Linked DNA regions of Homo sapiens: all the other regions are linked to region 1. The links are contacts of gene promoters, found by promoter capture Hi-C in blood cells and fetal thymus (Javierre and others, 2016). All regions are on one chromosome and are shown on one strand. Each heading gives the region's core, a stretch centred on a gene start or on the middle of the fragment in contact. The rest is flanking DNA. Distances are from core to core; before and after follow the strand shown.

Region 1 (6,630 bases), core at 2,479-4,978:
ATTTTGTTTAGTGTATTGAGAAACTTTCAAACTGTTTTCCACAGTAACTGAACCATTTTACTTTTCCATCAGCAATGAATGAGGCTTCCAACTTTTTCATAGCCTCACTAAGACTTGTTTTTGTTTGTTTTAATTCCAGCCATCTTAGTGGGTATGAAGTGATATCTCATTGTGGTTGGTTTGTATTTCCCTGATGACGAATGATGTGGGGAATCTTTTCATGTACTTATTGGCTAAACATATATGTTTTTTTGGAGAAATGTCTATTCAAGTCCTTTGCCCGTTTAAAAAGTTGGGTCATTTATCTTTTTATTATTGAGTGCTAATTGTTCTGTATTTTCCTGACTATTCCTGGATGTTCATTCTTCTAGTTGAACCTTCACCAAGAATGACTAGCGGCCAGGCGTGGTGGCTCATGCCTGTAATCCCATCACTTTGGGAGGCCGAAGTGGGCAGATCACTTGAGGTCAGGAGTTCGAGACCAGCCTGGCCAACATGGTGAAACCCCATCTCTACTAAAAATACAAAAATTAGCCAGGTGTGGTGGTGCATGCCTGTAATCCCAGCTACTAGGGAGGCTGAGGCAGGAGAATTGCTTAAGCCCAGGAGGCAGAGGTTGCAGTGATCTGAGATGGCGCCACTGCACTCCAGCCTGGGCAACAGAGTAAGACTCTGTCTCAAAAAATTAAATAAGAAAAAAAAAAAAAGAATGACTAGCAACTTTTACATAGCTGAAAAGCAAAAACCAAATATTCCTCCTGACTCTAGTCTAACAGATTCTGCAGATAAAATTTTCCCCAAAGCATCTTCCCGCTTAAATGACCTGAAAAAACTGTGAAGTTGATTTAAGTCTCACTTGTGTACATGAAACAGAAATGAGTTCTAGCATAGCCTGCTCTCTCTCTCTTTCTTTTTTTTTCTTTTTGAGATGGAGTCTTGCTCTGTTACCCAGGCTGGAGTGCAGTGGTGTGATCTTGGCTCACTGCCACACCTGCCTCCCAGGTTCAAGTGATTCTCCTGCCTCAGCCTCCCAAATAGTTGGGATTACAGGCGCCTGCCACCACACCCAGCTAATTTTTTGTATTTTTAGTAGAGACGGGGTTTCACTGTGTTAGCCAGGATAGTCTCAATCTCCTGACCTCATGGTCTGCCCGCCTCAGTCTCCCAAAGGGCTGGCATTATAGGTGTGAGCCACTGTGCCTGGTCCAGCCCTCTCTTAAAAGCTTGTGTATGATGTGTGCATGGGAGTTCCTAATTACTCTCCGGCCTAATTTACTTTGGTGTAGCACTGACTCCAATATTAAGGCTGGAGAAGCCCTTTCCAAGATCAGCATCCCAAGCTGGCCTGCGGTGCTTATCACAGCTTCTTAGGGCTCTCATCTCCTCCTGGGTTCAGAACTGAACCCAAACTACATGCACAGCCTGACTCACAGCTGTGGGTTGCAGTGATTGCTGGGCTTCATTAGGGAGGAGTGTGGTTTCCCGCATGCTTAGTCTTTGGGGGGAGTCTGAAAGAGAATCAAGCATTCCTTATGCCAGTTGCTTAATCCTTGGGGGTATCTGAAAGAAGCAAGCACTTCTTAGATCAATATTTTCAAGACTTATCTGATGCAGGCCTCTGCCTGGGGCTGGAGGATAGACTGTTTCTTCAGCTTCTCTCTCTCCAGGGTGGATATGAACTTGAGCCCTTGCAATGAACTGCTTGCATGTTTTCCCCCCTGGGAAATTTGTGTATGTATGTGCAATTATGATGGGGGAAACGGTTTAAAGATACTTTCAAAAGTGGACACTTCTAGTGTTTGTCCCTTGACAAATGAGTTTCTCGACCTGTTTTTTTTTCATTATCAACGCCTCCCCTAGTCTTTTTAATTTCCCCACCCTCACCCCTACCCCATGAAATTTTATTTTCTTTCTTTTTTTTTTTTTGAGACCAAGTTTCGATCTTTTTGCCCAAGATGGTGTGCAATGGCGCGATCTAGGCTCACCTCAATCTCCACCTCCCGGGTTCAAGCGATTCTCCTGCCTCAGCCTCCCGAGTAGCTGGAATTACAGGCATGCACCACCACGCCCAGCTAATTTTGTATTTTTAGTAGAGACTGGGTTTCTCCATGTTGGTCAGTCTGGTCTCAAACTCCTGACCTCAGGTGATCCGCCCGTCTCGACCTCCCAAAGTGCTGGGATTACAGGCATAAGCCACCGCGCCCGGCCTCTTTTCTTTTCAAGACAGGGTCTCACTCTGTCACCCAGGCTGGAGTGTAATGGCGTGATCATGGCTCCCTGCAGCCTCAACCTCCTGGGCTCAAGTGATCCTCCTGTCTCAGACTCCCAAGTAGCTGAGACTACAGGCATGTGCCACGACACCTGGTTAATTTTTTTTTTTTGTATTCTTTTGTAGAGATGGGGTCTCACTATGTTGCCTAGGCTGGTCTTGAGCTCCTGGGCTCAAGCAATCCTCCTGCCTCTACCTCCCAAAGTGCTGGGATTACAGGCATGAGCCTCCACGTCTGCCCTGAAATTTCAATATCACAGCTATACTGTATATCTATTTATGTGCTGTATGTATGCTGTGCTTTGTACATAAAAAATATGTTTTATTTTTTGCCCCGTTGGGGTGAGATAGAGACCGCACTGAGAATGCACGCTTTACATAATTAGTTCACAACTTGCCCCCGGCAGCCTCCACCACGTAAAATTAGAAGAAAGCAGCCCAGCAGGGCCTACAAGGAATGTGTGAACGGATGCACGTAAAGTGCTTAGCAAAGCGTGGTAAACAAGAGCCCTTGTTGTCATTCTTGCTTTAAGCCTAGTCCCAGTGATGTCTGTAACCCTCTCTTGGGCCAAGGAGTCCCATGGCTCTGGAGGGCTGTTCAGAGGACTAAGTCATTCCCAGTCTGGAGCTCTACGGGATCAGTAGGTACCTAAGGGAGTGAATTGGGCTTGGAGGGACTGTGGCCAGAAGACAGCTCTGGGCCTGGTGGTGATAGAACTTCTGATTTCTCAGGAAAAGCCAAGAATGTGGATTTTGGGTTAAATCTCCTGAATTTTAAGCATTGGCTCAATTAAACAACAATAAGGCAATGTGAACCGAACAAAAGGGATGAAACCAAGATTTACTGACTTTCCCAGAGTCACGGGCACGGCTGGGATTCCAACAAGGACTCCCAAACCAGTGCTCTTTCCACTTAACCTAACGCACACCCTTCATCTCGCCGCCCCTCCCCACTTCCCCGTCTTTGGGAGTTCTTCGATGCCTCTTCCCCCCTCCCCCCAGGATTCCCTCCCCATAGGCCACCCGCCTTCCAGCAGGGCGTGGTCTCTACAGAGGAGGTCAGGTCTCCCAGGCTTCCTCAGCGTCGACGCCGGGGAGCGCCCTGGGGTTGGGAGCGCCCGGGGCCCGCGAAGGAGGAGGTGGCTCAGGTGTCAGGGCGCACCGTGGGAACCGGCCCCGGGGGAGGCGTGGAAACGCGGGGCCTGGGACTCGACCAGCCTCTCCCGTGCGGATCGCAAAATCTCGGAGCTGAAACAGCCCGTTGTTCGCAGCCTCCCTCTGACCCGCCACCCTGCACATTGTTTTCCATTCGCCCGGGTCGCGGGTGGGAGGAGAGGCACGCCGGGGTTCTGGAGCTTGGCCGCGCGCCAGGCTTGTGGCCTTCGTCCCCCTGGGGCCACTGGGGCGGCCACGCCTCTCCGGCGGGAGGAGAGAACGCGTGGGTCCGGGTGGCTGCTCCGGCCCTTCCGCCTCCAGCTCGGCCATGGGGTCGCGCAGCTCCCACGCCGCGGTCATTCCCGACGGGGACAGTATTCGGCGAGAGACCGGCTGTGAGTGCGCCCGCGTCGGCGGCTGCGGAGGGGACGGGGCGAACCCAGGCGTCTGGGGCTAGGGAAGGGGTTGGGTTGAAGGATGGACGAACTTACAAGTCTGGGGTCCGGGGCTCCCCGGAGCTGGAAGACCAAGGCCCCTGTGCCTGGGATCGCTGGGTTAGGGGCGGGTTAACCTAGGGGTCCCAGCCTCCAAGTCTGGGGAGGATCCGGGTTCACGGGGTCGGAGTCCAGAGGAATCCAGGCACCCAGGTGTCCTCCAGCCCGGCTCGAAGCTGAAGGCAGAGCTGACGGCGGTTGGAAGGGATGGCTTTGGTTCTTTGGTTTTCGGGAGGTTGCGAGCCGCCCGGGTCTTGAACCTGGATCTTCGCGGGGTCGTGTCACTCTCCCTCCGCCCCGGCCAGCTCAACCCCTGATTCCCCGGGATGATCGCCCCTTCCAGCCAGCCCCCGCTGTTCTGGCCCATCTTCCTGGCCTGTTGGGGCGGGTTTCTGGAGCTGGCCCTGCAGAGTCACACACCCCCACCCCACTCTCCTTCCCGCAGTCTCCCAAGCCAGCCTGCTCCGCCTGCACCACCGGTTCCGGGCACTGGACAGGAATAAGAAGGGCTACCTGAGGTGAGGGGGAGCCGGCCTCATAACTTCTGGCCTCTGTCTCTCTGACTCCATGTCCCTCTTTGACCCTCCGTCTGGCATCTCTGCCTTACCCTCTTTGAAATTTGGCTTTGCAGCCGCATGGATCTCCAGCAGATAGGGGCGCTCGCCGTGAACCCCCTGGGAGACCGAATTATAGAAAGCTTCTTCCCCGATGGGTGAGGCTTGCTGGGCGTGGGGAGGTGAAGGCGGGAAAACCGGTGTGTGAGTGGGTGGGAGGGGAGGTTAGAGACGGAGGCAAAGTGATGGCCAAGGTGACCACCACCTCTTTCCATTCTGTCCCGTCTCCCCAGGAGCCAGCGAGTGGATTTCCCAGGCTTTGTCAGGGTCTTGGCTCATTTTCGCCCTGTAGAAGATGAGGACACAGAAACCCAAGACCCCAAGAAACCTGAACCTCTCAACAGCAGAAGGAACAAACTTCACTGTGAGTTTGTGAGGACCTGCACAAGTGAGAATGCAGATGTACCCACACCAGGGACAGGCTCCAGGGATCTCCCACTCCCTTCCTGAGGGCATTGACAACCTCCCCCCTCCTCCAAGGTGGGGGGAAGGAAGGTGGCTGCTGGAAGAGAGCCAGGGAAGACCTACCTTCCTTTCCCCCTCCCACCCTCTCCCCAGATGCATTTCAGCTCTATGACCTGGATCGCGATGGGAAGATCTCCAGGCATGAGATGCTGCAGGTTGGCAGAAAGCGAGAGCAAGAGATGTGATGTGTGAAGGATGGGATGGTTAAATGCAATGGTGTGAGAGATGGGGTGGGATGATTGGGGAACTGGGGCGCAGATAATTGGGGTATTGGTTGGGAAATGGGAATGGGTGCAGTTAGAGTGTGGGTTTGTTGGGAGTCGGAGTGGGGAGCAGTTGACTATGAGGTTGGGAATAGATCAGTGATTCTCAACTGGGGGTGATTTTGCTCCCTGAGTGAATATCTGGCAATATCTGGAGATGCTTTTTGTTGTCACAATGGGGGAGAGAGTGTGCTACTGGCATCTAGTGGGTAGAGGTCAGGAATGTGGCTATATATCATGCAATACCCAGGAGAGCCTCTTCCAACAAGGAGTTACCTGGCTCCAAATGTCAACAGTGCCAAGATTGAGAAACTCTGGAACAGATGTGATGGAATGAGGATGGAATTAGAAACCCTTAGTGGCTAAGGTGGAGAATGGTGTGGAGGATGGATGGAGGTTGGGTGATAAAGTTGGGTAATGAGTTTGAGCATATTTTGAGGGTAGTGCAGGATGGTGAGGGAGAGATAGGAGATTGGTTGTTGAAGCAGTAGGGAAAATTATTGGGGGATATGGTGAAAAATGGATGAAGGATGGATTATAAAATTAGCAATAACTTTTGGGATGAGGTGGGCAAGGTTTAGGAGATGGGGAGTTGCAGCCTTCGTGCCCCCTCCTTATGGCTGCCTCTTCACTCATCTCTCAGGTTCTCCGTCTGATGGTTGGGGTACAGGTGACAGAAGAGCAGCTGGAGAACATCGCTGACCGCACGGTGCAGGAGGCTGATGAAGATGGGGATGGGGCTGTGTCCTTCGTGGAGTTCACCAAGGTCAGAGTGCCCTTGGGGATTGGGGAGTTGAGATCAGGAGTTCTGGGGCAGACAGACTTGGGAAACGTTCAACGGAGGAGGGCGGAAAGATAGGGGTTGCCTGGGAATGATGGGGTCTCTGGAATGGGTAGAACCCTGGGGGAGGAGGTTGGGAGCATGGAGAGCTGAGAGTCAAGCCTCTTGCCTGCCATTTGTTTTTCCCTCAGTCCTTAGAGAAGATGGACGTTGAGCAAAAAATGAGCATCCGGATCCTGAAGTGACTCCGTTTGTGCCTTGGGCTTGCTCCTGCAACCAGTATCTCCTTGGAATTCATCCAAAGCCCCCATGGACGCATGGACGCAGGGCGACAATAAACTGTATTTTCGTTTCTAACTCTATTTAGGGCCAAGAGAAGAAAGCTGGAAGGATGTGTACTAAAGTCTAGCTCAGCAGTCCCCAACCTTTTTGGCATCAGGGACAGTTTTTCCACGGATGGGTGACAGGGGATGGTTTTGGGATGATTCAAGTGCATTACATTTATTGTGCACTTTATTTCTATTATGATTACATTGTAATATATAATGAAATAATTATACAACTCACCATAATGTAGAATCAGCAGGAG
Region 2 (6,630 bases), core at 1-2,500, 310 kb after region 1:
CTGTTTTTCAGCTCACTGATTTGCCTTCTAACTGCTTCCAATCTGCTGCTAAGCCATGCATTGAGTTATTAATTTTAAGTATTGCATTTTAAATAAACTTTTTATTTTAGAATAGTTTTAGATGTACAGAAAAGTTGCAGAGGATAGACTTCCCGTATACCTTTCACTCAGTTTTCCATTATTAACACGTTACATGACCATGACACATCCGTCAAAATGAAGATGTTAACACTAATTAGTACTGTATTGTTAACTAAACTCCAAACTTTATTTGGATTTTCCTTTTTTTTTTCACGATATTCTTAGTGTATTCCAGGATCTCATGTAGGATACCAAATTACATTAAGTTGTCATGTTTCCTAAGTGTCCTCTGGTTTATGACAATTTCTCAATCGTTTCTTATTTTTCATGACCTTGACAGTTTTGAGAAGTACTGGTCAAGTATCTGGTAGAATGTCCATCCACTTGGGAATTATTGTATGTTTAATTCTAAAGCTTTCATTTGCTTTATTTAGTTATTTTGAGACAAGGGTCTTGCTCTGTCACCCAAGCTGGAGTGCAGTGGCACAATCATCACTCATTGCAGCCTTGAACTCCTGGCCTCAAGCAATCTTCCCACCTCAGCCTCCTGAGAAGCTGGGACCACAGGTGCATGCCACTGAGCTTGGCTAATTTTTAAAAATTTTTGTAGAGATGAGGTCTCGCTGTGTTGCCCCAGGCTGGTCTTGAACTCCTGGCCTCAAGTGATCACCCCTCCTCAGCCTCCTAAAGTGTTGGGATTACAGGTGTGAGCCACTGTACCCAGTCAGTTTCTTTTTTGTAACCAATAGTTCTCTGGTGAAACTTTCCACATTGTCATCCTTTCTCCCTTCTTTTAAACATCTTAATAAGTTATTTTAAAGTTCATGTTTGATAATTCCAGTGTCTGAATCACCCATGGATCTGCCCTCTTGTCTGTTTTTTTAAAATTTTTTAGACGGGATCTTATTCTGTCACCTAGGCTGGAGTGCAGTGGTGCAATCATAGCTCGCTGCAGCCTCTACCTCCTGGGCTCAAGCAATCCTCCCACCTCAGACTCCTGAGTAGCTGGGACTATAGATGTGTATCACCACACCCCACTAATGTTTGTATTTTTGTAGAGATGGGGTTTTACTATGTTGTCCAGGCTGGTCTTGAATTCCTGAGCTCAAGCCGTCTGCCCATGTTTGCCTGTCAAAGTGCTGAGATTACAGGCATGCATCACCACGCCTAGGTGTTTTTTGCTTCTGGTCCTATTTCTTGGCATGTTTGGAAGTTTTGTTTGAATTTCAGATGATTCCTTGCTAAATTAGAAAGCTGTTGGACAGGTGTGGTGGCTCATGCCTGTAATCTCAGCACTTTGGGAGGACAAGGTGGGTGGATCATCTGAGATCAGGAGTTTGAGATCATCCTGGCCAACATAGTGAAGCCCCATCTCTACCAAAAATACAAAAATTAGCCTGGCATGGTGGCACATGCCTGTAATCCCAGCTACTGGGGAGGCTGAGGCACGAGAATCACTTGAACCTGGGAGGCGGAGGTTACAGTGAGCCTGGGTGACAGAGCGAGACTCCGTCTCAAAAAAAAAAAAAAAAAAGAGAGAGAGAGAGAGCTGAGGAAGAGGTTATTTTCCATGCAGGTTGGGGTCACCCTTCTGGTGGTGATCGAGCTCACTGTGTGCTGGTTTATAGCCTTCGTAAGGTTTGTTCTATTTCTGGTTCATTTCCACTCCTATGGTGTAGAGGTTTCCAACTCTGAGGCTGAAGACTTGCCAGGGCCCTCCTTTTAACTGGGTCCTGAACCCCAATTTTTGTTTCTCTAGCACCATAAGCCTGACAAAACCTCTCAGCTGATTTCTGTTTTGTGTCTCAACCTCTGCAGTGTGATTGGTAGAGACTCAAGAGAAAAATCAATGCCTAGCGTTGAGTTCACTTCTCTGCTCTTCCCCTCCCACTATGATTTGGCCCCTCAAGTCCTGCCTTCCCTGGAAGCTTTGATTCCTAGCCCCAAGAATAAGCTTCAAGCTCTGGTGGCCTCCCTCCTTCTTAGCAGGTGCCCTCTGTCTAGCTTCTTAGTCCTTTGCCCTGTGTTGAGAATTGATTTATGGCCCAAAGGAAAAAAAAAAAAAAACCACACACAGAATATTGGACTTATCTTAATTCTAATTCCTTCAAAATTCCAGTTTCTTGAAAAATATTTTTTATCTGGCTTTTATAGTTGCTCTCAGTGGGAGAGCTACTTTATCATTGCCCCAAGTGGTATGATATTAAATAAAAATATAAAATACAAAATAGATTTAGAGTGGTATAATTATGTAAAAATTGAATGTTAACATGGAAAAAGACCAGAAGGTGAATATACAAATGAAAGCATTTATTTAATTTTGGGATAAGATCTAAGGTAATATTTGTTTGGTTCAGAAAATTATTTTTAAAGAAGGGTGTTGTGAGCATCAGTGATAGAGTGAGGAATCCTCATTTCTTTCAGATCCTGGTAGGGGACCCTGAGAACTTTGGGGAGTGAAGATAGTGAAGTAAAGGTTGCTAAGCATTCTGCTAGAACACTATGGAGACAGCGATATAAAATAAGAGCCAATAATAACAAAGTAGCACATAGTGAATGTTTACCATATGCCAGACATTCTATTAATTTATAATGATTGTAACATTCCTATGAGCCAACATCCTTATCATTAGCCCCATTTTTTAAACAAGGAGACTGAGTTACCGAGAAGTTAGGTAACTTTCAGGTCACAAAGCTGCTCTATGGCAGAGCTGATCTGCCAGGATCTCTGGGTTTAAGCTCCTCACCATCACACTTGACTAATTTGGTATAGAAAGTGGCTTTAGATCAGATAAGGGTACATGAAATGCAGGAGGTGCCGTGTTAGAGGACAGTTTGGTCCAGTCCCCATGTCCTGGGGCAAATGAAGCAGATGGCCTCAGAACAGCCTGTTTTTAAATCATGTAAGACTGACTTCTTTCAGCTGCTGGATTCCTGCCTCCCAGAGTGAGACGTTGAAGTTTGGCCCGGAAGAGGCTGAGCACTGGGGACGAGCAGTGCTGTGCTGTGTATAGAGTGCTTAAAACAGTGCCTGGGTCTGAGCGTGGTGGCTCATGCCTGTAATCCCACCTCTTTGGGAGGCCATGGTGGGAAGATTGCTTGAGCCCAGGAGTTTGATTTCAGCCTGCAACATAGTGAGACCCCATTTCTACAAAAAATTTTAAGAAGTAGTCAGGCATGGTCGTACACCTGTAGTCCCAGCTACTTGGGAGGCTGAGGTGGGAGGATCACTTGAACCCCAAAGGTTGAGGCTGCAGTGAGTCGTGATTGCACTACTGTACTCCAGCCTGAGTAACAAAGCAAGACTTTGTATCAAAACAAAACAAACAAAACAAAACAGTGCCTGGCATATAGTATGTGCTCAATAAAAGTTGTCATTGTTATTGTCATGACATCATCAGAGCCTAGAACAAATCACAAAACCTGTATATTCTCTCTGGGCTGGAGGTCTTAAGATTCTTCTCCATTCCCAACGGGTACTCCCGAGATGACGTGATTCATGGCCATTCCTTCCTTCCTTCAGTGTGTGGCTCACACTGTGCTGGGCTATGGCGTCACCACTGTCAATACGACAAATAAATGGATAATTACAGCAAAGTGTTAGGACTGCTGTGCCAGACACGAGTGCAAGGTGTCCTGGGCAACCAGGGAAGGGACGTTAACTTACACTGGGATTGGGGCCCTGTGATGGTAAGCTTTTCATCTTGCAGGAAACCAGGGGATTTTTTTTTTTTTTTTTTTGAGACAAGGTCTTGCTCTGTCGTCCAGGCTGGAGTGCAGTGGCACGATCTTGGCTCACTGCAACCTCTGCCTCCTGGGTTCAAGCGATTCTTGTGCCTCAGTCTCCCAAGTAGCTGGGATTACAGGCATGTGCCATCACTCTTGGCTAATCTTTGTATTTTCAGTAGCGACGGATTTTTGCCATCTTGGCCAGGCTGGTCTCAAACTCCTGACCTCAAGTGATTCGCCTGCCTCAGCCTCCCAAAATGCTGGAATTACAGGCATGAGCCGTTGCGCCCGGCCTTGAAACCAGGGAATTTAATGACATTTAAAAATCATTTATTAAGTATATATGAAATATATAGAAAATAGTATCCCAGGCACCTAATAGAACAGAATAATAATAATGACTAGGAGTTGTTGAGTGTAAAATAGGTTGCAGTCATTACAACGCATATAATAGCATGAAGTATATAGCTCCTCAGCCCTCTCAGCCATCTTATGAGGGAACACTGTTGCTATTCTCATATTACAGATGAGGAAACTGAGGCTCAGAGAGGTTAAGTAATCCTCCAAGCCTCCGCAGCCAGGAAGTGGTATCACTTTGAACTCAAACTCAGGTCTGTTTGATCCTGAGGCCAAGCCCTTGGCCAGAAAAATTAGGAAGTCATAGTCCCTTCCCTTAAGGAGCTCTATTTAATATAGCAGAACAAGTAAAGCAAGTACATATCTCTCTAAAGTATACTGTGTCACTGAAGATAAGAAAGGAAGAAATCCTGTGATGGGTCAGATGAAGTCAGGAAAGGCTTCTGGGAAGAGGTGGCCTTATAGATCTAACTAGAAGGATGAATGAGCTTTGGGCCAAAGGCAAGGGAGGGAACCATCTGGACAAAGGGTAGTTAGTACACACTGTGACCTGAAGAGGGAGCTCAAAGCCCCCCTCCACTCCAGGGCTGATGTGAGGATGTGAGTTAAGGACTTGGATGCTGCTCTTGGGGCTTTCAGAGATAGGGGAGGAGCTTAATGACCTCGTCTTCATGATATACCCTAAGCATTCTCTCTTGGCTTTCCATTTGAGACTTACTCTGCCTTCAGACCTCTCAGAACTCTGCATATCTGGTATGGTAAGAGGAGCCTGAGCTACCTCTTCTCTGCATTGCCTTGAAAACAAAACATGGCCGGGCACGATGGCTGACGTCTGTAATCCTAGCACTTTGAGAGGCCAAGGCGGGTGGATCGCTTGAGCTCAGGAGTTTGAGACTAGCCTGGGTAACATGGTGAGACCCTGTCTAAAAAAAAAAAAAAAAAAAAAAAAAAGACAAACAGGACTGGGGAAAAGGAATAAGAGGAGCCCGTCCAACCTTCCAATTTCCACCAATTTTAATGTGGATCCAGAATTGAGAATGCTAGTCTAGCTCAACTCAACAGGGCCAGTGGTTCTACTTGTGATTGGGGGTAAAGGTCCTAGGGTAGTAAAGAGAGTGAGTACCTGCCTGGCTTGTCCGCTCTGCACATGTCTCTGGGCAGTAGCTGTGGGATGTGGTCCTGGACACTAGATCCCATCTGTCTCCTCCTATGGAGGCAGGATCTTACAGGGAACAGCCGGCAGCCAAGGCTAGCTGGAGTCTGGCCTACACCATATAAGGAGATGGTGCAGGAAAGGCTGAAAGTTATGGTGGGGGCCGAAGAGGGCGTTGAGTTGCAGTAACCATGCCCAAGCCTTTGTGGAGTTAATGATCACAGTGGACACATTCTGGAGGGGTCGTCGGCATCACTGGGCCCTGCTCCAGGATCTCAGCAAGGATGTTATTATTATCATGAGGGTGCCCAATTCAGTTTGCTACTTGTTTATGGGCTGATTGCAATTTGGATAGAGTTTAACCCCCACCCCACCCCCGCCTTTTGTTTTTAAAAATTTGCTGAGGTGAAATTCACATGACTTAAAATGATCTGTTTTAGAGTGAACAGTTCAGCGGCATTTAGTACATGCACAGTGTTGTGCAACCACCACTGCTATTTAGTTCCAAAACATTTCCATCATTCCAAAATAAAGCCCCATACTGATTAAGCAGTGACTACCCATCCCTGCCTTCTCCCAGCCCCTGGCAACCATCAATCTGCTTTTGTTTTTAATTTTTTTGAGACAGGGTGTTTCTCTGTCACCCAGGCTGGAGTGCAGTGGTACGATCATAGCTCACTGCAGCCTGGAACTCCTGAGCTCAAGCAATCCTCCCACATCAGCCTCCTAAGTAGCTGGGACTGTAGGCATGCACCACCATGCTCAGATAATTATTATTTTTATTTTTTATAAAGATGGGGGTCTCCAACTCCTGGCCTCAAGTGATCCTCCCACCTCAGCTTCCCAAAGAGTTGGGATTACAGGTGTAAGCCACCACAACCAGCCAATCTGCTTTCTTTAACTCTCTCTTTCTCTCTCTCTCTCTTTTTTTTTTGAGATGGAGTTTCCCTCTTGTCACCCAGGCTGGAGTGCAATGGCATGATCTCTGCTCACTGCAACCTCTGCCTCCTGGGTTCAAGCAATTCTCCTGCCTCAGCCTCCCAAGTAGCTGGGATTACAGGCCTGTGCCACCAGACCGAGCTAATTTTTGTATTTTTAGTAGAGACGGGGTTTCACCATGTTGGCCAGGCTGATATCGACCTCCTGACCTGAGGTGATCCACCCGCCTCAGCCTCCCAAAGCACTGGGATTACATGTGTGCGCCACGCACCTGGCCTAACTCTCTCTCTCTTTTTAAGGCTGTTTAAAAATGAAACTATTCAGTAGCTCAAGTATACCTTACTGTAAAGAGGAAGTATTTATGCAGTGCT
Region 3 (6,630 bases), core at 1,813-4,312, 300 kb after region 1:
TTGCTCAGCCATGTCGTATAATCCTATCAACAACCTGTAGTCCCAGCTACTTGGGTGGGAGAGAGTTACTGAGGGCATCTCCATTTTACAGATGGGGAAACTGAGACACAGAGAAAGAGGTTAAATAACTTGCCCAAGCCACACAACTAGGAAGATGTGGAGCTGGGACTTGAATCTAACTATGCCATTCCAGATAATTAGGCTCTTGGACACCGTCTTATCCTGGCACTAAGTACATCAGTGGAGTGATGATGATACATGATATTAGTAGCAGCCACTTTTACTTCTTTCTTTTCTTTTCTTTCTTTTTTTTTTTTTTATAACAGAGTCTCACTCTGTCGCCAGGCTGGAGTGCAGTGGCACAATCTCAGCTCACTGCAACCTCCGCCTCCCTGGTTCCAGCGATTCTCCTGCCTCAGCCTTCCAAGTAGCTGGGACTACAGGCATGCGCCACCATGCCCAGCTAATTTTTTTGTATTTTTAGTAGAGACAGGGTTTCACCATGTTGGTCAGGCTGCCTGACCTCAAATGATCTGCCCACCTCGGCCCCCCAAAGTGCTGGGATTACAGGTGTGAGTCACCGTGCCCAGCCACAGCCACCTTTTCTAAAACCCTTCCAAATGCCTGGCTTTTGCTAGGAACTCTACAAGCGTTCCTTCAGGTAATCCTCCTAACAACTTTTGCTATTACCCGTAGTCCTTCTCTCCATTATATGGTGAGGAAACTGAGACTTTGCTTCATATGACTCCATTTTCCCCAACACTTCCTGCTAGCCTGTTTTGCTCCTTTGGGAGTATGAGAGTCAGTGTTTGCTGGACTGTGAGGCTGAAGATGATAACATTTCTTCAAATTGGCCTGTTTTTTTTTTTTTTTTTTTTTTTTTTTTTTGCAGAAAGACAGATTTCACTGGCCAAGATCTGCCCAAGAGGCTGAATAAATTCCTAGGTTGTGAGAAGCAGGTGGATGGAGAAGACTTTCTCTCCAAACCTCCCTGTGTTAGGACCAGGGAATGGGTTATGTGAATCTGGCAACCCTGTCCCACCCTGGACCTGCACCCTTTACCACTACCCTGGCACATCCGGGACCTGCACCCTTTACCACTACCCTGGCACATCCGGGACCTGCACCCTTAACCACTACCCTGGCACATCCGGGACCTGCACCTTAACCACTACCCTGGCACACCCGGGACCTGCACCCTTAACCACTACCCTGGCACATCCAGGACCTGCAACCTTAACCACTAACCTGGCACATCCAGGACCTGCACCGTTAACCACTAACCTGGCACAACCAGGACATGTGCCCTTAACTATTACCCTGGCACAACCGGGACATGCACCCTTAACCACTACCCTGGCACATCTGGGACATGCACGCTTAACCACTACTCTAGCATCATCCGGGACCTGCACCCTTAACTACTACCCTGGTCTGCCTCCTTGAGTGGCCCAGGGAACATCTAGAAGCTGAGAGAAAGAGAGGGATAAAACCAAGTTCACAGCAGTATCCTAAGAAAGTGTTCTCACTTAAAAATGCAAAGATGCTCACAGAGTGTTCAGGTTACACTGGAAAACTCCAGAAACAAAGTGGTTTGTGTACATGGGAGGAAGCAGAATCAACTTCCCACCTTAGCATTGTGGGTGCTTAGCCCACGCCTGTGTATCGCTCAGGGAATCAGAGTCACTATAAGCATCATGGAATAAGGGATTTACTGTACACGTTAGACCTTATACAAGCTTGGAGATGCTGGAGACGGGAAGATCTGGAGGGGTGAATTGAGAATCAGAGGAAGAGCAGTGGTGCAGGTGGACAAGTAGGAGTTGGTAGGGGATCCAAGAAGCCAAGCACGTTGAGCTGCTGACATAGATATTGATGAATTTCATGAAGCTTTTACAGGCACTGGTTTCACCCTTGGGTAACTCAGTACAGGTATGTTGACAGCCTTCCACTAATTCAAAGATGGTTCATAGGTGTCCCAGAATCTTTTAATTCCCAAGTGAGGCAGCCCCAACTCCTTCAGCCATTTACTTTCTAATCCTTAATCCACAGCCCACAACCTCAAACACATGATAGGGCCGAGTATGCCATCATTGATGTCAACCCGGAACTCTTCCTAGACAACACTCCAGTTGGAGTAGCTTCCTTATAAAGCAGGGTGCCCAGAGTGAAAGAGAATCCACCTGTGTTGCCGAGGAGCGAAGGATTGTCACTTTCCTTATTCTAGATCAGCTGTTTTCAAACCTTTCGGCTTCCAGCCCATCTAGGTTTTATGTAACACACACACACACACACACACACACTGCACAAACAAGCACAAACTCACAAACACACACACATTGCACAAACAAGCACACACTCACAACCAAAACCAAACTGCCATTAATGCTTACCTCTACTTATGCTCACCACACACTCTGATACATTCTCCTCTCTTTTGTGGCCCTCTTTTCTGTTCATTTCCATTCTATTTCCTTTAAGAAACCCTTTAAGGAAAATGCTCTTACTCTGCAAATTGATTTCACTAACAATTGGCAAATGTGTCATGACCCGCCGCTTGAAAAACACTGTCCTAGACAACAAAATTCTCTTTCTGCATCCTGAGATGATACTACTCTTTTGGGGGGTCTGGGGGTACCACCAGCCACATTGCACTGTTGACTTATCTTGGGTTTATGATCAGTTAAAGCTCTCTTGTCTATCACATCGGGTGCTGCTAGCCTGCAGGCCCCACATCCTTGTGCAAGATTTTTTTTTTTTTTGAGACTCCAGGATGAAACCTGATGCATTTCATCTTGTAGGGTTTGGCCTTTTGCTCCACGGCCAGGCTGAGAGCTTTTGGGTCTTCCTGTTCTTGTGCCGAGTGTCTTCCGGACATCACCTTCCTCACACCATTCTCTGTGCTACTTGTTCTGCCCTCCTTACTTTTGAAAAGATAGTTTATTACTCATAGATGAGGAGCAGGCGTGCCACTCCATGAAAGGCCACACAGGGAAGCAGCAGGGTCTGCCAGGAGGCAGAGGAAGCGGAAAGAAAACGTGGCAGGAGCATTTGCTGCTGTTTCTGTGAGAAGGAGCAGGTAGGGCGGGAAACCAGCCTTAGGGCTGGCTGGTTTGAATGATCTCAGCAGACTCTGGGTGTAGAGGCTGTCTCTCTAGTTGCCTGGTACCTGATACCTGGTGCTTTTACCTGGGGTAATTAGCACAGGCTGGCCCAGAGTGTAAGAGCCCCATGAAGGAGTTGGTTGGAGGTTTGGGCTTTGGATTGGTTGGTTTGCATATGAAAGGTGCGCTTGCAGGTGAGTTCTTTACTGTCTCTAGGAATGGGCTAGCCCTGGGACAGACAGTTTCTCCAGGGTCAGCAAGGCTCCGAGACACCAAAGCATCAGAAATACAGAAAATAGAGCCAGGTGCAGTGGCTCATGCCTGTAATCCCAGAGACTCAGGAGGCTGAGGTGAAGAATCACTTGAGGCAAGGAGTTTGAGACCAGTCTGGGCAACATAGTGAGACCCCTGTCCCTAAAAAAAATTAAAAATAAAATTACCCAGGCATGGTAGTGCAGCATGCCTGTAATCTCAGCTACTCAGGAGACTGAGGAAGGAGGATCACTGAATCCAGGAGTTCAAGGAAAGAGGCCGGGCACAGTGGCTCACGCCTGTAATCCCAGCACTTTGGGAGGCTGAGGCAGGTGGCGAGTGAATCACCAGGTCAGGAAAGGGAGACCATCCTGGCCAACATGGTGAAACCCTGTCTCTACTAAAAATACAAAAATTAGCTGGGCATGGTGGCGGGCACCTGTAATCCCAGCTACTCAGGAGGCTGAGGCAGGAGAATCGCTTGAACCTGGGAGGTGGAGGTTGCAGTGAGCAAGCGAGACTCCGTCTCAAAAAAAAAAAAAAAGACATAAAATTAATAGACCTTAGACTATTTTATTTAATTATTTTATCAAAATAGGATAGGCATAGTTAAAAATGCCAATGTGCATTGGAGAGCTGAGGATGAAAAGCAATGTCCTGTACTTGAGCTTGCATCAGAATCATCTAGAGAGTGCCCCACCCTCAGAGTTTCTGATTCAGTAGACATTGAAGAATGAGAATTTGAATTTCTAACAGGTCCCCAGAGAATGCTGGTGTGTTCACACTCCGGTTACCAGAAAGGGATCCCGATCCAGAACCCAAGAGAGGTTCTTAGGTCTTTTGCAAGAAAGAATTCGAGGCAAATCCATAAAGTCAAAGCAAGCTTACTAAGAAAGTAAAGGAATAAAGCATGGCTACTCCACAGGCAGAGCAGCCCTAAAGCTGCTGGCTAGCCACTTTTGAGGTCATTTCCTGATTATATGCTAAAAAAGGGGTGGATTTTTCATGAGTTTTCTGGGAAAGGGGTGGCAGATTCCCAGAACTGAGGATTCCTCCTCTTTTTAGACCATGTAGGGTAACTTCCTGACGTTGCCATGACGATTGTAAACTGTCATGGCGCTGCTGGGAGTGTCTCTTAGCATGCTAATGCATTACAATTACTGTATAATGAGCAGCAAAGACGACCAGACGTCACTTTTGTTGCCATCTTGGTTTTGGAGGATTTTGACCTACTTCTTTAACACAACCTGTTTTATCAGCAAGGTCTTTGTGACCTGTACCTTGTGCTGACGTCCTGTCTCATTCAGTGACTTAGAATCCCTTAACCTCCTGAGAATGCAGCCCAGTAGGTCTCAGCCTTATTTTACCCAGCCCCTATTCAAGATGGAGTCACTCTGGTTCAAACATCTCTGACACTCTGAGAACCACTGCATTGGAAGACACTATTTTCAACTCTTTAAACTCTTTCTTCCAGCACTTGAGCTCTAAATTTTAATCATGTGCTCTGTCTCTCTGTCATTTCACTATTTCATGGCTCTGACTTCCTGAGAAGGTTTTAATTCTCTGATGTGATCCCTCTAGTTCTCTTCCCCTCACATCCAGCACGGGGTTACTGCCATTTGTAGTTCACTCACTCAAAAAAAAGTGATTATTAAGCATCTTCTGCATGTCAGGCATTGACTTAGTCACTGGAGATTTGTCAGAGAACAAGCCAAAGTCCTGCCCTCATGGAGCTTATATTTTAGTGCAGGGCTTGACAAACTTTTTCTGTGAAGGGCCAGATGGGCTTTGGAGCTATCTGGTCACTGTCACAACTACTTAACTCTGCCATTGTAACACGGAAGTGGCCACAGTGTGCCAATGAATGGGCACGGGTGTGTGCCAATAAAACTTTATTTACAAAAACAGGCAGGAGGCTGGATTTGGCCCTTGGGCTGTAGTTTGTAGACCTCTGTTGTAGTGTGGGAGAAGACAAAGTAGGTAAATAAGTAAAATACGAACAGTAAGCTAAGGGGAAAAAGAAAAAACGGAAAAAGAGGATGGGAAGGAGGCAGGAGGGGACTGGACCTGCACATTTAGATATGGTGGCAAGCAGGCAGTCACTGAGATGGGGACATTGAGTAAAGACTTTCAAAGGAGATGAAGGAGGGAGCCATGCATCTCCCTGGCAGAAGAGCATTCCAGGCACAGTAACAGCTGGTGCAAAGGCCCTGTGGCATGAGCATGTTCGGTGTGCTTGAAGAAACAGCAAGGAGGCTCGTGTGTCTAAGTGGGGCAAGTCAAGGGAAGGGAGCAGGAGAGGAAAGCGGAGGAAACAGAGAGGCAGCTGCTGAGGGCTATGTGATTCTTGGGAGGGAATTTGTCTTTTCTCTTAGTCCAATGGGAATCCATTATTGTGACTCTAGTAGTTGTAATAGTTCCTTTAAGTTTTATTTATTTATTTTAGATACAGGTTCTCACTGTATCACTCAGGCTGGAGTACAGAGGCACAATCACTGCTCACTGCAGCCTCAAACTCCTGGCCTCAAGCAATCCTCCTGCCTCAGCCTCCTGAGTAGCTGGGACTGCAGGCACACACCACCATGCCCAGCCAAATTTTTAAAAATTTTATAATAGAGATGGGATCTGGCTATGTTGCCCAGGCTAGTTTCAAACTCCTGGCCTCAAGTGACCCTCTTGCCTCAGCCTCCCAAAGTGCTGGGATTACAGGTGTGAGCCACTGAACCTGGCTATTTAAGTTATGTATTTGCAACTCCATTTCTTGCTTTCCCAATGGTAGGCAATATCTCTTAACTTTGTCTTTTGTAGAGCATTTTTATATGCATGATATCATTTACTCCCTATGAGATGTGACTATTGTCCCTATTCTGTAGAGGAGGCAACTGAAGCTCGGAAAGGTTAAATGACTTGGCCAGATTCATATAGCTGATAAGTGCTGGTGCTGGAATTTAAACCCAGGTTTGTCTTAATATGGAGATCTTAGCACCTATTTTATATGAAGAGACAATCCTTTAGGGATACTGGGGAAACCTGTGGCTTTTGGACAATAAATTAAAAACCCTTTCCCAAGAAGGGGAGCTGTGTGTGTATCAATCAAACAAAATGAGAACTATTCTGAGAGGGAGGAAAAGGTTCTTTTCTGTGGGAACGCTGACCAAGCCGTTGACAGCTCATTTATGTGATGCTGGTGCAGTTTGACATTCATAGTACAAGACTTGCATGCAATTAGCACGAATCGTTCTAACAGTCTCTTGAAAACATTTGGAATTTTCCC
Region 4 (6,630 bases), core at 1,287-3,786, 270 kb after region 1:
TTAACCTGCATGCCCTGGCACTACTGTACCAGTGGTGGAAATATTGAAATACTCTGAAACCGATGGGTAAATAGCCACTGGGTCCTCTGGGCCTTTTCCCCCAACCTTCCACTTACCCATATCTGCCTCTGCCAGCTCCTACCACACCCCCTCCATGACGTGGTGACTAGAGTGCTAACTCCCAGCACAGCCAGGCTCTGCTGTCCATTCCGTTTGGTCTGTGGGCAGTCCCTGAGCCAAGGCAATTATAGATATCTTGACTCACCCCTGGTTGTAGGTAACATGCCTACCTGGATTGGCTGAAGCACAAAGGACAAATTTTAGAGGACACAGGGAGGCAGATGGAATTGGAAGGCAGGATGCCAGAACCCCAGGGACCAGAACCAGGAGCTTCATCCCTGGGGTCATGTAGTCTTTGTCTTTGTTTCTCCAGGTTCCTCAGAGCGCACCATAAAAATCAGCACCAACTGTCATTTGCTACAATGTGGATGAACCTGGAGGACATTATGCTAAGTGAAATAAGCCAGGCACAGAAAGACAAATACTGCATGATCTCACTTAGATGTGGAATCTAATGAAGTTGAACTCACAGAAGTAGAGAGTAGAATGATGGTTACCAGAAGCTGGGGGACAGCAGGAGGCAGGAGTAGGGAAGAAATGGAGAGTTGCTGAGCAAAGAGTACAATGTTTCGGATAGGAGGAATTGCCTTTGAGATCTATTGCACAGCAGGGTGACATTAGTCAATAATATGTATGTTTCAAAGTAATTAAGAGAGTAAATTTCAAATATCTCAAGCTAAGAAAATGATAGGCAAGTTAGGTGATGGATATGTTAATTTTCTTGATTTAATCATGCCACATTGTGTGTGTATATTCAGAACAATCAGAACAATCACATTGTACCCCATAAATGCATACAATTATAATTTGTCAATCAAATATAAAATTAGCAGCCTCAGCCCTGGAACTGTATGTCTGCTGGCCTCAGGACTGATTACCTGTGTCCCAGCCACTCAGCATATGTGACCCTTGAGCCAAGTGTCCACCTCTGCCCCAGTCAGCTGTGTTCAGGGAATGTGGATGTCTCAAAGTACAAGCATGGCTTTTGGGAGGTGCCCATCTCAGAGATGGCATTGGGCTCAGGCAGGCATGGAAAGGTACCCTGAAAGATGCACCTTGAGGGTCGTGGAGGGAGTCATGAGGACCACAGGTGTAGGAGTGTGGCTTTAAGCTCTTTCAGGTAGCAGGAAGGAGGAGGGAAGAATCCACTGAGGATGACCTGGTTTGTCTGGTCTGAAGGATTGGGGCAGTGGGTGGGTAGAGTTGGTGCCTACAAGTATGATCCCTCATGAAAGCGGAGGGAGGGGAATGAGGTCAGAGGAGCTCTCCAGCAGCCTCTAAATAAGCCGTAAGAAGTCAATGTTTCCCTGCAACTTGCCGATTGGTTTTCCTGTCTCTCATCTGGCTCTAATCTGTGCTGCACAGCCCCTTCTAAGTCATTTTCCTAAAATAGCATGTTTATGGTGCAGGGGTTTGCAGTGGCCAACAGCGATGATTGCAGCCCTACAGCTGTCACAACAACCCATTGACCACTGTGTGCAATGCTGTGCTTGCCACGGGCAAAACACTTCGTCTCTTAGTTCTTCGGTTTCCTCATCTGTAAAACAGGGGTAGTAAGTAGTATGTACTTTATAGGGCTGTTATGAGGATCGAATGCATTAATGCCTGATGAATCCCTTAAAATAGTCCCTGGCATGAATAAATGTTCCATAAATGTTAACTCTCACTTATTAAGTATTTATTGAGCATCTTCTGTATGCCAAGTACAGTTTATGCCCTGAGAGTATAATGATGAGCAAAATTTCCTCACATTGCATGCAGTGAAGTGTGGAAGAGATGCAATTAAGCGTGCATTTATAAGTCAGTGGTTTAAGTGCCGTGATGGAGAGGATTTAGAATATAAGTTCCATGAAAGCAGAAGCTCTTTTGTTCACAGCTGTATCCCCAATGCCTAGGAAGAACTTGACCCTCAGTATACATTTGCTAGGTGAATGAACGAATGAGTCAAGTTCTATCTTAGCCGCACATGAAGATGAGGTGTCAATGGAGTAAAGTTGGGAGTGAGGAGAGAAGGGAGGGGAACTTGGTGTGAACCCCATCTCTGCAAGGGTCCAGCTGGGTGGCCTTGGTGAAGTTACTCTGTAGTTAGGATCTGTTTCATTGTTGCTAAAATGGGAACAAATGATACCTTCTGCATGGCATGTCATAAGGATTGGAGAGAGTACATGTGAGACACCCAGCGTACACATGTAGCTCTCAAGCAGTGTGTTGAGACTGGGTGTGGTGGTTCACACCTGTAATCCTAGTACTTTGCAAGGCTGAGGCAGGCAGATCACTTGAGCCCAGGAGTTTGAGACCAGCCTGGGCAACATAGCAAAAACCCTGTCTCTACAAAAAATAAAAATTAGCCAGGCATATGGCATGTGCCTTCAGTCCCAGCTGCTCAGGAGGCTGAGGTGGAAGGGTCGCTTGAACCTGGGAGGCAGAGGCTGCGGTGAGCTATGATCGCACCACTGCACTCCAGCCTGCATGACAGAGCAAGACCCTGTCTCAACAAGACAAAAAACAAAACACACACAAACACAGAAATGTGTTTCCTTTTCCCTTCCCATTCTTTGTGCTTCTTGGTATCTCCTCTTGTTTAAGAGACTGTTGATATGGAGAAAGGTCTGGATCATTTTTGGTCAGAAATGCTTGAATCCTTGTCTTGGAGATCGCTCAAGAAAATATTTACATGAAGAAAAGTGCAAAACCAACAGAGGCAACTTATTATTAGTTGTGATTTTGCCCCAGATCTTAAAGTAGAGCTCACAAGGCCTTGAGGAACTCCTTTCTTCTCTACTAGGCAGGACTAAGGAAATTCAAACCTGAACTCAAACCTAACTCTTGGCCTCTGTAAGATCAATATATCAGAGAAACCAGAAGGGACCACAAGAGCCAAGAGTAGAGACAGAATGTGTCCTAGGTCTTGGAGAGGAGCTGGCTCAGGCCACTTCTACCAAGGGTCTCAGGGCAATACTATAAGACTTGGACCCAGTAGCGTCCTGGGAGAAGTGAAGGATGTAAGGGAGAAGGAGAAGAGAAAGATGGCAAGGATGCCTTTTAACCTCCATGCGAGCTCCACCACTGGGGTCTGGCCAATCCGTGTCTTGGAATCCATCCAATTAAATCAACTCTGCCTCCTTAGAGGTTAAGTAGGGGTGTAAGAGAACCTGGAGCTTCTCCTACAGGCCAATACCAGTCATGAACAGGGGTTCCTTTTTTATTATTATTATACTTTAAGTTCTGGGGTACACGTGCAGAATGTGCAGTTTTGTTTCATAGGTATACACCTGCCATGGTGGTTTGCTGGACCCATCAACTTGTCATCTACATTAGGTATTTCTCCTAATGCCTCCCCTAGTCCCCCACCCCCCGACAGGTCCAGGTGTATTATGTTCCCCTCCCTGTGTCGATGTGTTCTCATCGTTCAACTCCCACTTATGAGTGAGAACATGCGGTGTTTGATTTTCGAACAGGTGTTCCTTTTTAGGTGGGTTTGAAGCACTGAACTCCCAACTTTAAGGTGAATGTCCAAGAAGCACAATGGGAACTGTTCTGTGGCACAGAGCAGGGGGACTCTGATAGGAACCTTATGTATTCACTTAGTCTCATTGTCCGGAGATAGAGACATGGCTGGTTAAGCTGCCAAAAGGGATCCCTTAGTTTTTTGGGGGGTGGATTTCCAAGCCCTGTTGTTGTTACTAGGACGGCACCTCAATCTTTGAGCAGGACAGATGATTGCTGGGGTCCTTTTGTAGCTGAGAGCACTCAGGGTCCCACTGGCGACAGCAGAAAAGACCTCGCTTCTCAAACTTGGCTGTCCAGTGCTCTGGACGAGTACTTCATCTGCCTGACTGCAGAGGGTGGGAACGTTGTGAAAGAAACTTTGTAGCTCATTAACAAGATAAGAAGCAACCGAAGTCTGCAGTGGCTGAGGATTTTCAGTCAGGTTTATTGAGACATACGTTTCCTGTGGTAAAAGTCACTTTAAACAATTTTTTTTGAGACAGGGTCTTGCTCTCCCACCCATGCTGGAGTCCAGTGGCGTGATCATAGCTCACTGCAGCCTTGAACTCTTGGGTTCAAGTGATCCTCCCACCTTGGCCTCCCTAGTAGCTAGAACTACAGGCATGCACCACTATGTCTGGCTTTAATACATATATATAGTAGAGACAGGGTCTCACTGTGTTGCCTAGGCTGATCTCAAACTCCTGGGTTCAAGCTCAAGCAGTCCTCCCGCCTTGGCCTCCTAAAGTGTTGGGATTGAAGGCATGAGCTACTGTGCCCAGCAAAATTCACTTTTTTTCTTTTTTCTTTTTTTTGAGATGGAGTCTTGCTCTGTCGCCCAGGCTGGAGTGCAGTGGCATGATTTCAGCTCACTGCAACCTCTGCCTCTTGGGTTCAAGCAATTCTTCTGTCTCAGCCTCCCAAGTAGCTGGGACTACAGGTGCATGCCACTATGCCCAGCTAATTTTTGTATTTTAAATAGAGACAGGGTTTCACCATATCGGTCAGGCTGGTCTTGAACTCCTGACCTAAGGTGATCCACCCACCTCGGCTTCCCGAAGTGCTGGGATTACAGGCATGAGCCACTGCTCCAGGCCACAAATTCACTTTTAAAAATATAAAGTAAAATTCATCACAGTTAATATATAGACCACTCCAATATCCAAAACAAAAAAGTTGCTGCATCTGCCTCTTTTTAGTTAATTCCCTATCCACCTCCAACCCCTTTTAACCACTGATGTTTTCTGTCCCCATAGTTTTGTGTTTTTCAGAACATTTAGAAATGAACCTACACTTGTGTTGAACATCTTTGTTTTACCAGAATCCTTTCGAGGTTCATGAATGCTGCTGCATGTGTCAATAGTTCATTCCTTTTTACTGCTGAAAAGTATTCCACTGTGTGGATGCCTCACACTGTATCCATTCACACGTCGAACGACATTTGGGTCCTTTCCAGTTTGGGGCTATTATAAGTAAGGTAGCTATAAACCTTCATGTATGGATATGGTTGTTGTTTTTTTTTTTTCCCCTTCTCTGTCACCCAGGCTGGAGTGCAGTAGCACGATCTCGGCTCACTGCAACCTCCGCCTCCTGGGTTCAAGTGATTCTCGTGCCTCACCCTCCCAAGTAGCTGGGACTACAGGCATGTGCCACCACACCCTGCTAATTTTTGTATTTTTAATAGAGACAGGGTTCCTCCATGTTGGCCAGGCTGGTCTCGAACTCCTGACCTCAAGCGATCTGCCCGCCTCGGCCTCCCAAAGTGCTGGAATTACAGGCGTGAGCCACTGTGCCCGGCCTGGATGTTTTCATTTCACCGAAAAGTAGGATTCCTGGGTCCTAGGAGAGTTCCAGTTTATGTTCTTTCTTCACTAACACTTGGTATCGTTGGTTTTAGTTTTCAAACATTTTAGCAACTCTGGTAGGTATGTGATATGGTTAGGCTTTGTGTCCCCACCTAAATCTCATCTTGAATTGTAATCCTCATAATCCACACATGTCAAGGGAGAGACCAGGTGGAGGCAATTGAATCTTGGGGCAGTTTCCCCCATGCTGTTCTCATGATAGCGAGTGAGTTCTCACACGATCTGATGGTTTTATAAGGGGCATGTCCCCCTTTGCTCGGCACTTCTCCTTCCTGCTGCTTTGTGAAGAAGGTGCCTTGCTTTCCCTTCGCCTTCCACTACGATTTTAAGTTTCTTGAGGCCTCCTCGTCCTCAAGAAAATTGACTGTTAGTCAATTAAATCTCTTTCCTTTGTAAATTACCCAATCTCAGGCAGTTCTTTATAGCAGTATGAAAGCAGACTAATACAGTATGGAATTATTTTAAAGTTTTGAAAAGAACAGTTTCCTTAGGAGAAGCACTCATCACATTAACAGCACATAAAAGAATATCTATGTAGTATGTCTGTTTATTTGCTTACATGTTCATTTTCTGTCACTAGAGTACAATTTTAAAGGAGGCATCTGTGGCAGCATCAATAAATACATGTGAATGGATGAATGAAGGAAGGAAGAAACTGGTAGCATGTACCAAAGGCTAGGGTGTCAGATCAGCCCTGGATTGGAACCTAAGGCCCATGTTATTAACTTCTGCCATGTACTTTTTTTTCCTTTTTTTAAGAGAGAGAGGGTCTTGCTCTCTTGCCCAGGCTGGAGTGCAGTGATGCAATCATAGCTCACACATAGCCTTGAATTCTTGGGCTCAAGTGATCTTCCCACTTCAACTTCCCAAGTAGCTGGGACTACAGGCATATGCCACCACACCTGGCTAATTTTTTATTGTTGTAGACATGGGGTCTCACTATGTTGCCCAGGCTGGTCTTGATCTCCTGGCCTCAAGTGATCCTCCCACCTTGGCCTCTCAAAGTGCTGGGGTTATAGGCGTGAGACACTGTACCTGGTCTGCAATGTATAACAGAGAAAGCAACTTTTACAGAAAGAGTTCTCTTGAACTAAAACCAATTCTGTGAGGAAAGAATCTCTTGAAGAAGAAAGAGAAATGCAGAGCCAAAGGCTTA

What was found. Contacts are between HindIII fragments. The CHiCAGO score rates a contact against its expected background, and 5 or more counts as called.
Region 2: a fragment that was not itself captured here is called in contact with the fragment with the promoter of CHP2 in region 1 in 1 of 17 cell types (total CD8 T cells); the score reaches 5.1 in total CD8 T cells.
Region 3: a contact is called between a fragment that was not itself captured here and the fragment with the promoter of CHP2 in region 1, in 1 of 17 cell types (naive B cells). The highest score is 5.3, in naive B cells.
Region 4: a contact is called between a fragment that was not itself captured here and the fragment with the promoter of CHP2 in region 1, in 1 of 17 cell types (megakaryocytes). The highest score is 5.3, in megakaryocytes.

The regions. Positions count from the first base shown.
Region 1 is chr16:23,751,298-23,757,927 of GRCh38, forward strand. It overlaps CHP2 (calcineurin like EF-hand protein 2), which reads left to right and starts at 3,729. Exons shown (of 7, transcript NM_022097.4): 1 at 3,729-3,819; 2 at 4,364-4,436; 3 at 4,550-4,630; 4 at 4,766-4,896; 5 at 5,091-5,152; 6 at 5,904-6,026; 7 at 6,233-6,630. The coding sequence starts at 3,753. The coding sequence ends at 6,286. RefSeq lists an enhancer at 3,617-4,262. The HindIII fragment of the contact is 3,392 bases long and covers 1,222-4,613 here.
Region 2 is chr16:24,066,345-24,072,974 of GRCh38, forward strand. The region is part of intron 5 of PRKCB (protein kinase C beta); the gene reads left to right. Among named protein-coding and RNA genes, the nearest start is that of MIR1273H, 130 kb to the right of the region's middle. The HindIII fragment of the contact is 1,514 bases long and covers 494-2,007 here.
Region 3 is chr16:24,048,190-24,054,819 of GRCh38, forward strand. All of the region lies in intron 5 of PRKCB (protein kinase C beta), which reads left to right. Among named protein-coding and RNA genes, the nearest start is that of MIR1273H, 150 kb to the right of the region's middle. The HindIII fragment of the contact is 2,349 bases long and covers 1,889-4,237 here.
Region 4 is chr16:24,023,683-24,030,312 of GRCh38, forward strand. The region is part of intron 3 of PRKCB (protein kinase C beta); the gene reads left to right. Among named protein-coding and RNA genes, the nearest start is that of MIR1273H, 180 kb to the right of the region's middle. The HindIII fragment of the contact is 8,464 bases long and covers 1-6,630 here.